Linked DNA regions of Homo sapiens: all the other regions are linked to region 3. The links are contacts of gene promoters, found by promoter capture Hi-C in human tissues and cell types (Jung and others, 2019). All regions are on one chromosome and are shown on one strand. Each heading gives the region's core, a stretch centred on a gene start or on the middle of the fragment in contact. The rest is flanking DNA. Distances are from core to core; before and after follow the strand shown.

The links. Contacts are between HindIII fragments. The study calls those that stand out against the background at their distance.
Region 1: a contact is called between a fragment that was not itself captured here and the fragment with the promoter of MTMR12 in region 3, in 1 of the 25 tissues and cell types used here (dorsolateral prefrontal cortex).
Region 2: a fragment that was not itself captured here is called in contact with the fragment with the promoter of MTMR12 in region 3 in 1 of the 25 tissues and cell types used here (dorsolateral prefrontal cortex).

What each region holds. Positions count from the first base shown.
Region 1 is chr5:31,597,030-31,601,129 of GRCh38, forward strand. No RefSeq gene overlaps it. Among named protein-coding and RNA genes, the nearest start is that of PDZD2, 40 kb to the right of the region's middle. The HindIII fragment of the contact is 4,528 bases long and covers 583-4,100 here.
Region 2 is chr5:31,579,395-31,583,462 of GRCh38, forward strand. No RefSeq gene overlaps it. Among named protein-coding and RNA genes, the nearest start is that of C5orf22, 49 kb to the left of the region's middle. The HindIII fragment of the contact is 9,056 bases long and covers 1-4,068 here.
Region 3 is chr5:32,310,532-32,314,649 of GRCh38, forward strand. It overlaps MTMR12 (myotubularin related protein 12), which reads right to left and starts at 2,408. Exons shown (of 16, transcript NM_001040446.3): 1 at 2,227-2,408. The coding sequence starts at 2,307. RefSeq lists silencers at 1,737-1,876, 1,947-2,736 and an enhancer at 2,827-2,876. The HindIII fragment of the contact is 13,800 bases long and covers 1-4,118 here.

The sequences.
Region 1 (4,100 bases), core at 1,597-4,096, 710 kb before region 3:
GGTATTGCAGACCCATTCATGATCCTCTAAAGGATTTCTCCAACTTGCCTTTGCTATCTAATCTTCGGCTTTAATTTCTTTTTTTTTTTTTTTTTTTTGAGACGGAGTCTTGCTTTGTCACCCAGGCTGGAGTGCAGTGGAGCGATCTCTGCTCACTGGAAGCTCTGCCTCCCAGGTTCACACCATTCTCCTGCCTCAGCCTCCTGAGTAGCTGAGACTACAGGCGTCCACGACCACGCCCGGCTAATTTTTTGTATTTTTAGTAGAGACAGGGTTTCATCATGTTAGCCAGGATGGTCTCGATCTCCTGACCTCGTGAACCACCTGCCTCAGCCTCCCAAAGTGCTGGGATTACAGGCGTGAGCCACATGCCCAGCCTGGCTTTACTTTGTAACACTAAATGTGAACCAACTGAAATAAATCAGAAAATCTAGGATTATAAGTGTGAATGTTTAATTCAAATTCTCTAGCAAATTGTGCTCACTTCGGCAGCACATATACAAATTCTCTAGCAAATTAACCAGGCATCGTGGTGCATGCCTGTAATCCCAGCTACTTGGTAGGTTGAGGTGGGAGGATCATTTGAGCCCAGGAGGTGGAGGTTGCAGTGAAGCGAGATTACACCACTGCACTCCAGCCTGAGTGACACAGCAAGACCCTGTCTCAAAAACAAAACAAATTCTCTAGCAAATCCAGTAGCGGTCCTGAAGAGGATCCAGGAATTCTTTAAACCAAGGCAGATTCTCCTCTACTAGACATAGGGTATTCCCAAAATGGAGTCAGAACAGCAGAAGGAGGAGGCAGAGGTGAAGGAAGGAAGGAAGGGAGGAAGGGAGGAAAGGAGGAAAGGAGGAAAGGAAGAGGGAAGGAGGGAGGGAGGGGTGAGGAGAGAGGGAAGGTAAGTCCAAACAAAGAAGTTTTGACAAAAGAGAAAGAAGAGCTGAAGAAGGAGAAATTTCAGCAGTCTTTTTCAATTTAAAAATTGTTTTAGGGCCGGGTGCGGTGGCTCACGCCTATAATCCCAGCACTTTGGGAGGCCGAGGCGGGCTGATCACAAGGTCAGGAGATCGAGACTATCCTGGCTAACACGGTGAAACCCCATCTCTACTAAAAAATACAAAAAATTTAGCCGGGCGCGGTGGCGGGCACCTGTAGTCCCAGCTACTTGGGAGGCTGAGGCAGGAGAATGGCGGGAACCCGGGAGGCAGAGTTTGTTTGCAGTGAGCAGAGATCACGCCACTGCACTCCAGTCTGGGCAACAGAGCGAGACTCCGTCTCAAAAAAAAAAAATTGTTTTAGGCACTTTTGTTTTCTTCTTGCAAAGAAATGATTTTATCAGAACCTCTTTTGAAGCTTCCAAGTACCACTGAAAATCAATCTGCCAGTTGCTTTATTTTATTTTAGTGCCAGCTTTTTCTAATTGAGTGTGCAAACTAGGTTAGGTACTTAAAAGTTACCCCCATTTGGCCATTATAATTTGGCTCATTTGGTCATTGTGAGTTATGTGAGACCATTTTTCTAAATATTTGCATATAAAAGTGCCATAAATATTAAAAATGAATCTAGCTGATGTTTCTAAGGGTGGATCTCTCCATAAGGAAGAAGACTCAGTTTTAGAAGTATGATTGCTCAGAATTTAGACTTTACTTTTGAATGACCAAAAAGACCTAGTGGGAGGTGTTTTGGATTGAGTGTGCTGATTGTGGGAATAGCTCTTCAAAGTATCACCCTGGAGTCAGTTCTTCTCGTTTATGTGTCTTGGTGGTCCCAAGAGACTTGAGTGCTTAAGGCACTAGGTGATCAACTTGTATGTGTGCTCACAGGATTAAGCAAAGTTCCCCATATATTCTTCTGAAGGGATTCCCTTTAGAACAGTTTATGTCATGAGCGATAAGCTCCAACACTCCCTCAAGACCTTACTCACTAAAGGTGCCTTTTGGCTGGGAAAGACAATGTCTCTTATCCTCAGGACTTATCTTGTCCTCATAGAGAGCCTTTTGTAATATTGTCACTCAAAAAAAAAAAAAAAAGCTTAGATTTGTCAATTGAACCAAGCTTCAGAATCTGACCAGCTCTAAAGTTTATAAAATTTTCGCTTAAGCCACAGAGATTCACTTCCTCTTTTCAGAGAGAAACTGTTTTCTCCCTAACCAAAATTTGGTACAAGAGAAAAGGTTGGAAAACTCCAAGCAGTAGTTCCAAATAAAACCTTAAGCTCAGAGAAAAGTGAAAATCACAAATCTGCAATTATCAGAATCTCTAGAGAATAACAAACCAAACTCCTACCTTGTTGTAGAACTTCAGTTCCAACCCCATTGAGTTAGGAATGTGTGTAATGCAAATAAAGTCTGCATCCTCAACCAATCCAGGAGAACTCAAACTTGAAAGGGGCCTTACCAGAGATTTGCATAGCCTGTGAAGTCAGGAAAATGAAAATCATTTGTGCTGGTACCAAGGCTCAAGTTGTTGACAAAGCGATGAGGATTGCTGAAGTTCTGCTTCAAGTCCCATCATGGTCGCCAAAATGTCAACCTTAAGTAATGAGATACAGAAAATATAAATTTGTACATAGTCTATTCAAACACAAGCCTTGAGGATGGCCGCACGGGAACCAGTGACTACAAACAAACAAGGTCAGAATTCCAAAGTGGAGAAGTTAAGGTTTCAGGCCAGGCGCGGTGGCTCAAGCCTGTAATCCCAGCACTTTGGGACGCCGAGGCGGGTGGATCATGAGGTCAAGAGATCGAGACCATCCTGTCCAACATGGTGAAAGCCCATCTCTACTAAAAATACAAAAATTAGCCTAGTGTGGTGGCATGCACTAGTAGTCCCAGCTACTTGGGAGGCTGAGGCAGGAGAATCACTTGAACCTGGGAGGTGGAGGTTGCAGTGAGCTAAGATCGCGCCACTGAACTCCATCCAGCCTGGCGACAGAGCAAGACTCTGTCTCAAAAAAAAAAAAAAAAAAAAAGTTAAGGTTTCACTTATATAGGCAGAAACAGAGAAATTTTAGCAGATTACAGCATTTTCCTTACAAGACCGTTCCGTATATGAGAGCAATTTGATTGGTTACAGATTGCTACATCCCAAGGAAGATTACTCTATTGCTCCATGAGGGAGGTAGTGATCTGAGGGGGTCTCATGTCTGAGGCCATTTGGTCTTCTTAATCATTTACAAGAAAACAAGGCAGAAGTTGCAGCTGCATGCTGCGTGACTCAGACTACATAGCCACCCTCCACTTGAAGCTCAGAATAATTCAAATGTCCAACAGCTTTAAGTTTGAATTATTTAATTTCACAGGAGGTACATTTTTTGAAGACTTGTATGTGTAAAAATGTCTCTTTTCTACCCTTTTACTTGATAGCAAATTTGGCTAAATATGTAATTCTTGGTTAAACAAAAAATAACTTTCCCTTGGAAATTTGAAGGTATATCTCCATTATCTTCTACCTTCTATTTCCATGAGAAGTTTGATGCCATTCTTATTCACAATCTTCTATTCATTAGTTTTCTGTCTCCACTCTATTTCTCCACTCCTACCAGAGCTTTTAGAGACTTCTGTTTATCCCTAGGGTTTGAAATTTTGTAATAATAAGTCCTTTGTTGTCACTGGTTTATGTTATTTGATGGGAATTTTTTTTTTTTTTTTTTTTTTGAGACGGCGTCTCACTCTGTCACCAAGGCTGGAGTGCAGTGGCATGAGGATGGCCCATGGCAGCTTCGATCTCTTGGGCTCAGGTGATTCGTCTACCTCAGCCTCCCGGGTAGCTGGGACTACAGGAATGTGCCACCACGCCTAGCTAAGTTTTTGTATTTTTTGTAGAGACAGGGTTTCACTATGTTGCCCAGGCTGGTCTCGAACTCCTGTGCTCAAGCAATCCTCCTGCCTTGGCTTCCCAAAGTGCTGGGATTACAGGCGTGAGCCATCGTGCCTGGCCTTGTGGGATATTTGTTTGTTTGTTCATTTGTCTTTTACTCATTGGGCTAGATACCAAAAAGTTCTTTTTGAGAAAAGGCTCATGTTCTTCAGCTCTGAAAAATTCTCTTACGTTATTTTATTAATACTTTTCTCCACCAGTCTTTTCTGTTCTCTTTCTGG
Region 2 (4,068 bases), core at 329-2,828, 730 kb before region 3:
TGGGACTACAGGCGCCCACCACCACGCCTGGCTAATTTTTTTGTATTTTTTAGTAGAGATGGGGTTTCACCGTGTTAGCCAGGATGGTCTCGATCTCCTGAGCTTGTGATCCACCCGCTTCAGCCTCCCAAAAGTGCTGGGATTACAGGTGTAAGCCACCACGCCCAGCCGGCATTACCATTTTTAAAAGCATTAAAATTTACGAAATACTTAGGAAAAACTTTAACAAAAGACATGTAAAACCTCTACAATGAAAACTATATAACACATACTGCCAAGACTTAAGCTAGCAATTTAATGACTGCTATTTATTAAAATACTTTAATAATTTTAATTATTAAATATTTAATTAAATTATTTTAAATAATTATTGTTATACTTATTGTTAATTACTAAATTTATTAATTAAAATTATTAAATTTTAATTAATACATAACTTTAAGGAGGTTCTTGGAGGTAATGTTTTCATGAAGGCTTCCTCAAACTGGAGAAAAGCCTTACATAGGTCCTGGAAAGACTCTCTTTACTACTATCAGCACTATTAACAGTTGCTAAAGCATTTTTATAACAGAAATAATTGAATACTCAATTATTATTAATAGTTGAATATTCTAAAATGATTCAATTACTTTGAATAATTCAATTCTCTTTTTTCTCATTCTACCTAGATAATACTGATGTCCCCTTACCATAGCCCCTTATATATGACATTCCAGAAAAGGCAGGGCAGCACTATTGAAAATCCAAGCGCTTTTTCTGGCTGATTTTCCATTGAAGTTAGATGGGCATACACTGCCTACATTCACAGAAAAGAGAAGGACAGTGTTTATCATCCTCACTCTGAAGGCCACTTCAGGAGCAACCCATTCAAATCTCCTGGGTATGGAGGGTCACTCTTGCTCTTGCTGGCCAATGACCAATATATGCAGGGTGTTCACCTGCTACTGTGATGAAGAGGTACAGGTAAAAAACAGACCCCCGTTATCTTCCTCTTTTCTCCTTCTTTATCCCCTTCAGAGGTCCCTATTTTTCCATTTTTGTGAGCTTCATTCTAACTAGTTTGCAGATAAAACCATTTTGCCCAGTAAACAAACAAACAAACAAACAAAACCTTCTACTTGTATGTTTCGTGTACTATCAAGCAGTATTTGGGCTTACACCTGTCTTTGTCAACTTGAATTAATTTAAGATCAACATTTTTTAATATTTAGTTTGGGTTTTTCTAGCTAAGATTAGTAAAGAAAGCATAAATAAAAATTCACTGTGGGGATTTTTAAACCCTTGGTTAATTTTACAGGCATTGGCAGAAGCAATGTTTCTCTTCCTGTTCATCGATTCCAAGTTACAAATAGGGACAGAGAAACAGTTTAATGTCTTTCCCATTTAACTGAAACTTAAAAAGTAGCATATTTGCCTCCAGAAAAAACTAATGGACTCTATGATAGGCAAAAAATGTCTTTTCCCCAAAGAGGGCCTCATCCAAATCTCCAAAACCTGTGAATAGGTTATGTTATAGGGCAAGGGAGAATTAAGTTTGCAGATGCAACTAAGAAATCCACTGACGACCAGGTGCAGTGGCTTATGCCTATAATCCCAGCACTCTGGGAGGCCAAGGAGGGAGGATTGCTTGAGCTCAGGAGTTTGAGACCAACCTGGCAACACAGCAAGACCCCCATCTCTGTTAAAAGAAAAAAAATCCACTGACTTTGAGATGGGGAGAGTAGCCTGGATCATCCAGGTGGGCCCAGAGGTAGCGTCAGAGGGGGTGCATCATGGAAAAGACTCAGCAGTCATCACTGGCTCTGAAGACAGTAGGGGACTGCCCGCCAAAGAATTCAGGCAGCCTCTAGATGGTAGAAAGGGGAAAGACATGGATCCTCCTCTACGGCCTTTAGAAGGAACAGAGCCCTGCTGACACCTTGATTTTAGAGACCCATTATGAACATATGACCCTAGAATTGTAAAGTAATAAACTTGTATTGCATTAAACCACCAAGTTAGTGATAATTTTTTACAGCAGCAATAGGAAACTAATACAGAATCTTTGTTCCTTAACAGGTGCATGCCACCACACCTGGCTAATATATTTTAAGTTCTAATCTTTAATTGTGGGAATATCTTCTTTTAATTAGGGAATTTCAAGTTTAAAAGAGTAAAGCACTGTCCTGCTTTCTGTTTCTATGGATTTGCCTGTCTGGACATCCCATAAGTGGAATCATACCAGAAAAAAAAAAAGTATTCTTTTTTCTTTGCTAAATAACGTAATTAAATAGTTTGGACACCAGGTGGCCCTAGACTACCAGATTTATCAAAGGAGCGCTTTTCAGTTTTATGATCTTAACATATTACTATAAAGGCAATGATGCAATTTTCTTTTAATAAGAAGAATGTTAAAAAACATCCCATTACATATGCATCTAAGTTTTTTGACTATTGTTGGTCAGTCACTTAAATTAGTCTTGACAAATCTTTAAGTTGGTTTCTGACAATTGTTGTGTGTGTGTGTGTGTGTTTTTAATCTAGAAAGATGAACTAAAACTGAATAGGTGTCACTAGAATATGACACAAGGGTAAGAACTTTTTTGGTTCCCAGTGCCTTGAATGCTGACAGCATCCCATAGCCTGCACCCGATAAATAACAGTTGAATGAAAGAATAGCTCATGTCCAGTTTGCACATATAAATTTGTTTCTGAATAATCTGGAACTTGAAGAACATCCTTTTGTCCAAGAATTTTTAATTTAGCACTATTCATAGAGCACTCATTTCTTTAAATGTGCTTGCAATGCATTCTCTTTTATGCTAGAAATGAACAGCCATTCCTCATTACATGATTACGTGCAGTCCGCCCTGCCCCCGACCCAGGTGTTTCCAGTTCTAACCCAACACCCCTAGGCTTCCTACTCTCCTCCCAGTGTCTGTGAGTGATCTTGGGGGAGAGTGTGGTCAGGTCCACAGTGGACCAGAAGTCACCCACCTCCCTGGATGCAGGGGCTTGCACAGTACCTACCTGTGCCCTGGGGTACTTTGTGCCCCTCTGCATTAAGCCCTCTCCTGTTGCCTGTCACGCCCTCCAAGCCAAAGTGAAAAAGTGTCCGCTTCAGAGACTTCTTCCCAGTTGCAGGGATGGAAAAATAATTTTCTCTCTACCCTTAATAGGTCTTAATTGGGACTACCTCTAACAAAAGAGAGATTAACATGAGAAAAACAAACAGTTTATTACCGTATATGCCTCATGTATATTTGGGAGGAAACTCTGAGAAATGTGTCAATATTTAGAGTGGATCTCAAAAGAAGCATTTAAACTTCAAGCTTAAATATCATCATTCCGGGAAAAAAAGAAAGAAGGGTTTGGGGAAAGGTCTGGAAAACACCATAAAACGAAGGTAAGGTTTTTTGTGCAGATTTAAATGTAAGCCTTCTCCATTGGTTATGAGTCTCTACTGATTTACTCTTCCTTTTTCCCTGGTGCAGAGAGAGACACTGTTACAAATGGAGACTGCCTTTAAAGATGTAAATTTTTTTTTTAAAGGGTAACTTTTCAGAAATACTCCTGTGTCTGCACTTTCTCAAAATAACCAGCTCAAAATAAGCAACATGCCAAGGAGGCATATTTTGGGGTGGCATATTCTGGTCTCTTACAGTCATATTTGGTGTGGTACGTTCTGAGCCCCAACGCAATGTACTCTGTCTCCAGATATCTTGTAAATTCTGATTCCTTCATAGGAATCAGTTCTCGCTGTGTTCAAATTGTTTTATATTTAGTTGTGTACAGTGTGTACAGTGGCACCAGATTATAATTTCTGTAGATAAAGGGTAATACTTTATCCTTTTTTATATTCCCAGTACCAAGCCAATATTGGGAATAAATAGGAGGAAAAGAGAGGAGAGGAGAAAGGAAAAAGGAAAAAGGAAAGGAGGAAGGAAAGGAAAGGAAAGGAAAGGAAGGGAAAGGGAAAGGGGAGGGAGAGAAGGCTGTCGTATCATCAGACTCAGACTGCAGATGGGTAAAATAACTGCTGCTGATTTCTTAACATTTAAATATGGGTGTGTGGCCAGGTGTGATGGC
Region 3 (4,118 bases), core at 1,158-3,657:
TGAACTACGCCAGGCGCAGAAAGACAAACTTTGCACGTCCTCACTTATTTGTGGGAGCTAAAAATTAAAACATTTGAACTCATGGAGACAGAATGATGGTTACCAAAAGCTGGGAAGGGTAGCAGGGGAAAGGGAAGTGGGGATGTTTAATGGGTACAAAAACACAGTTAGAATAAGATCTAGTAAGTGATAGCACAACAGGGTGACTACAGTCAACAATAATTGTATATTTTATAATAACTTAAAGAGTATAATTGGATAGTGTGTAACACAAAGGAAGGATAAATGCTTGCAGTGATGGATACCCCATTCATGCATTGTATGCCTGTATCCAAAGATTTCTTTCTTTTTTTTTTTTTTGAGATGGAGTCTCGCTCTGTCGCCCAAGCTGTAGTGCAGTGGCGCGATCTCGGCTCACTGCAACCTCTGCCTCCTGGGTTCAAGCGATTCTCCTGCCTCAGCCTCCCAAGTAGCTGGGATTACAGGTGCGCACCACCATGCCTGGCTAATTTTAGGGTTTCACCATGTTGGCCAGGCTGGTCTCCAACTTCTGACCTCAGGTGATCCACCCACCTCAGCCGGCCCAAAGTGCTGGGATTACAGGTGTCAGCCACCATGCCCAGCCCAAATATTTCATGTATCCCATTAAATATATACACCTACTATACCCACAAAAATTTTTTAAATGTTTAAATGTTTTAAAAAGACACAAAGAGAAATTGACCACATTGCTTAAATGTGATACCACAAGGGAAGCCCGCTGAAACTTTAAGATGACCCTGACTCCACATCAAGTGCTAACAGAGGAAATGGTTTGTATTTTACAACTAGGACTAAAAATAAGACCCATTTTAAGAGCACTTTCCCCTGGAGAAAACACACATATCTTGAATTTAAAGATACATATGCAAATGCCTCAGGCCCCAGGTGGTCTTTACGGAAGCAGTCCCTGATCAGATCTCTCATCCACAGCCCACGTGCTTCTGCATTACAGAGGTGGGAAGACATCTGCAACAAATTTGGCGGTGCTTCTGCACTTCTGCTGGAGAGAAGGGCAGAAAAAAACCTTTACAGATGCAAAACAAGAAGGCTTCTCATTAGGCATTTGGATTAAGAACTATTGCTCAAGAAGCCCTGAGCAAGGCCTACAAGTTCTGATCTCTCTAACCTCCTCTCCTATGACTGTCCCCCTTGTCCATGGGCCTCTGCCATGCTGGCTTCCTTGACGCTCCGCCAACCCTTCAGACACACTCCCACCTCACGACCTTCCCGGGGGCTGTTCCCTCTACCTGGACGACTCTTCTCTCAGACCTCTCGTATCTTCAAGTCTCGGCTCAAATGCCACCTTTGCGAGGAGGAAAAAGATTTCTTTTCTTTCCCATGATATTTATCACCTCCTACTACACCGTATAATTTACTTAATTATCTATAATTCACCCCGTTTCTCCTTTCCCCCTCAAATAAGCTCCAGGAATGCAGAGATCTCTGTCCTGTTCACTGATGTCTATCACAAGCACTTAGTGCCTGACACACAGTAGGAGCTCGAGAAGTATTTTCTGAATGAATGAACAAATTTCTTGACCTGAAGATTCAGAAGAGTAAGAAGTGGGTGGAAAGGATGATGGTGAGGGGATGAGGAGAAAGAAGCGACAGCGGAGAATTCCCAAGGGAGAGACAAGCAGAGACTGGCTGAGGCCAGGCCGACCCCCTTTTCTCCCCGCAGCGCTGACGGGAGGCGGACGTAGGTGCAGGGCATCCCGCCAGCCGCACCCGAGGCACTCAGACGCAGGCAGCGGAGGCCGGCGGGCTTCTGGGCTCACTGAGAAAGTCCAGAGGCAGGACGGACCCACGCGGGCTCCGAGCAGGCCCCGTTGGGGGCTCCGACCCACGGCCCTACCCCTCCCAGCAGTGCCCACAACCCCAGGTCCTCTCCAGAATCCCCAGGGGCGTTCCGGGCCGCAATCCCTTCTCGGCTCGGGCCCCTCCACCAGCCTCCAGCGCTCGGGCCCTGCGCTCAGGCACCTGCCTGCCTGCGCCGGGGTCCCCATTCCGGCCCGCGCGGAGGCCCCAGCGCGCTCCTGCGGCCTCAGCCCGCCTGGCTGCCCCGTCGCCCGGCACAAGGGCAGGAAGCGCTCCGCGGCGCTCCCCGCTGCAAGGAAGGGGCTCCCGGCGCCCCTCGCCCCGGCCGCCCCTGCCCGACGCCCCGCCTGCGCGGCGCCCCCTCACCTCAGGGCGTACGTACGACACGAAGGAGGGCTTGGGGGCCTTGGTGCCGCCGCCACCGCCGACTACTCCTTTCCCCAGCATACCGCCGCCCTGGGAAGCAGCGACGCGCGGACGCAGAGGCGGCGGCTCGGGCTCCAGCTGGGGCAGCAGCGGCGGCCACCAGCACTAGCGGCTGGGGCTCCGCCCATCCCCAAGGCCGCGACCGCCGCGATGCCGCCCGCATCCGGCTCCGCCGCTGACACCGCTCGCCCCGCCCAGGCCCGTGGGCCCCGCCCATCCCGTGCGCGGGCCCAGAGAGCCGGGAGACCGCAACTGGAGGCCACGCCCCCCCATCACGTCAGGAGAGTTTGACCCGCCGAGATTCACCACCTTCCTGCGGCAGAGCCCGCCCTCATGCTTTCTCTGATTGGCCCGAGGCGCTGCCGGCCGAACCCCGCTCCCAACCCATTCTTGAGTGCACTTGGAGAGATGTTTCCTCCAACCAATCCAGAGAGCGTTCTCTCCGGACTTTCCAACGATTGGATGGCGAGGATAAAACCGTCGTCCAATGATCCTGCAGTCACCAAGTTGTCGTTAGCAGGGGTTCACGGCAGTCGTTTTCTTCCGTTTGCTTGTGTCTTTGGAATAAAACGTCCAAAAATGGGATGTATGGAATCTTGCTATAGGAGTTCCCAACTTACAGCGATGACGTTCAAGGTTTTTTATTTTATTATTATTTACTTTTGAGACGGAGTTTTGCTCTTGTCGCCCAGGCTGGAGTGCAATGGCGCGATCTCTGCTCATTGCAACCTCCGTCTCCCAGGTTCAAGCGATTCTCTTGCCTCAGCCTCCTGAGTAGCTGGGATTACAGGCGCCCGCCACTATATCCAGCTAATTTTGTGTGTGTGTGTGTGTGTGTGTGTGTGTGTCGTTCTGTCGCCCAGGCTTGAGTGCAATGGCGTAGTATAGGCTCACTGCAACCTCTGCCTCCCAGGTTCAAGCGATTCTCCTGCCTCAGCCTCCCGAGTAGCTGGGATTATAGGCGCCTGCCATCACACCCGGCTAATTTTTGTATTTTTAGTAGAGACGGGGTTTCACCATGTTGGCCAGGCTAGTCTCAAACCCCTAACCTCGTGATCCGCCCGCCTCAGCCTCCCAAAGTGTTGGGATTAGAGGCATGAGCCACCGCGCCATGCCGCTAATTTTTGTATTTTTAATGGAGACGGGGGTTTCACCATGTTGGCCAGGCTGGTCTCAAACTCCTGACTTCAGATGATCCACCCGCTTCGGCCTCCCGAAGTGCTGGGATTACAGGCGTGAGCCACCGCGCCCGACCTCAAGGTTTATTATTTTAAATGTAAACAAAAATGAGACAAACGATGACTCACGCCTCTAATCCCAGCACTTTGGGAGGCCGAGGCGGGTGGATCATCTGAAGTCAGGAGTTTGAGACCAGCCTGGCCAACATGGAGAAACCCTATCTCTACTAAAAATACAAAAATTAGCCTGGTGTGGTGGCGGGCGCCTGTAATCCCAGCTACTCGGGAGGCTGAGGCACGAGAATCGCTTGAACCAAGGTTGCAGTGAGCCAGGATCGCGCCACTGCACTCCAGCCTGGGTGGCAGAGCAAGACTGTGTCTCAAACAGAAAAAAAAAAGTGTCAAATCAAGTGTTAACAAGGCAGTGAGGAATAAGTTTGAGCGTTTGATAATAAAAGACTTTGTCAACTTCATTTTTCCAAACCTTTCCCTTCTTTGTGTTTCCAACAGGAAGAATATCAAGAGCCCTTAAGAGACTTCTATTTACTCTACGAAGTTATTGATAAAACCCTCATTTTTTAGTCAAGATTGCAAAGAAAATTCATTTCAGTTCTACATTTGGTGCCAAGCGTTGTTAGTTGCAGATAAATAAGA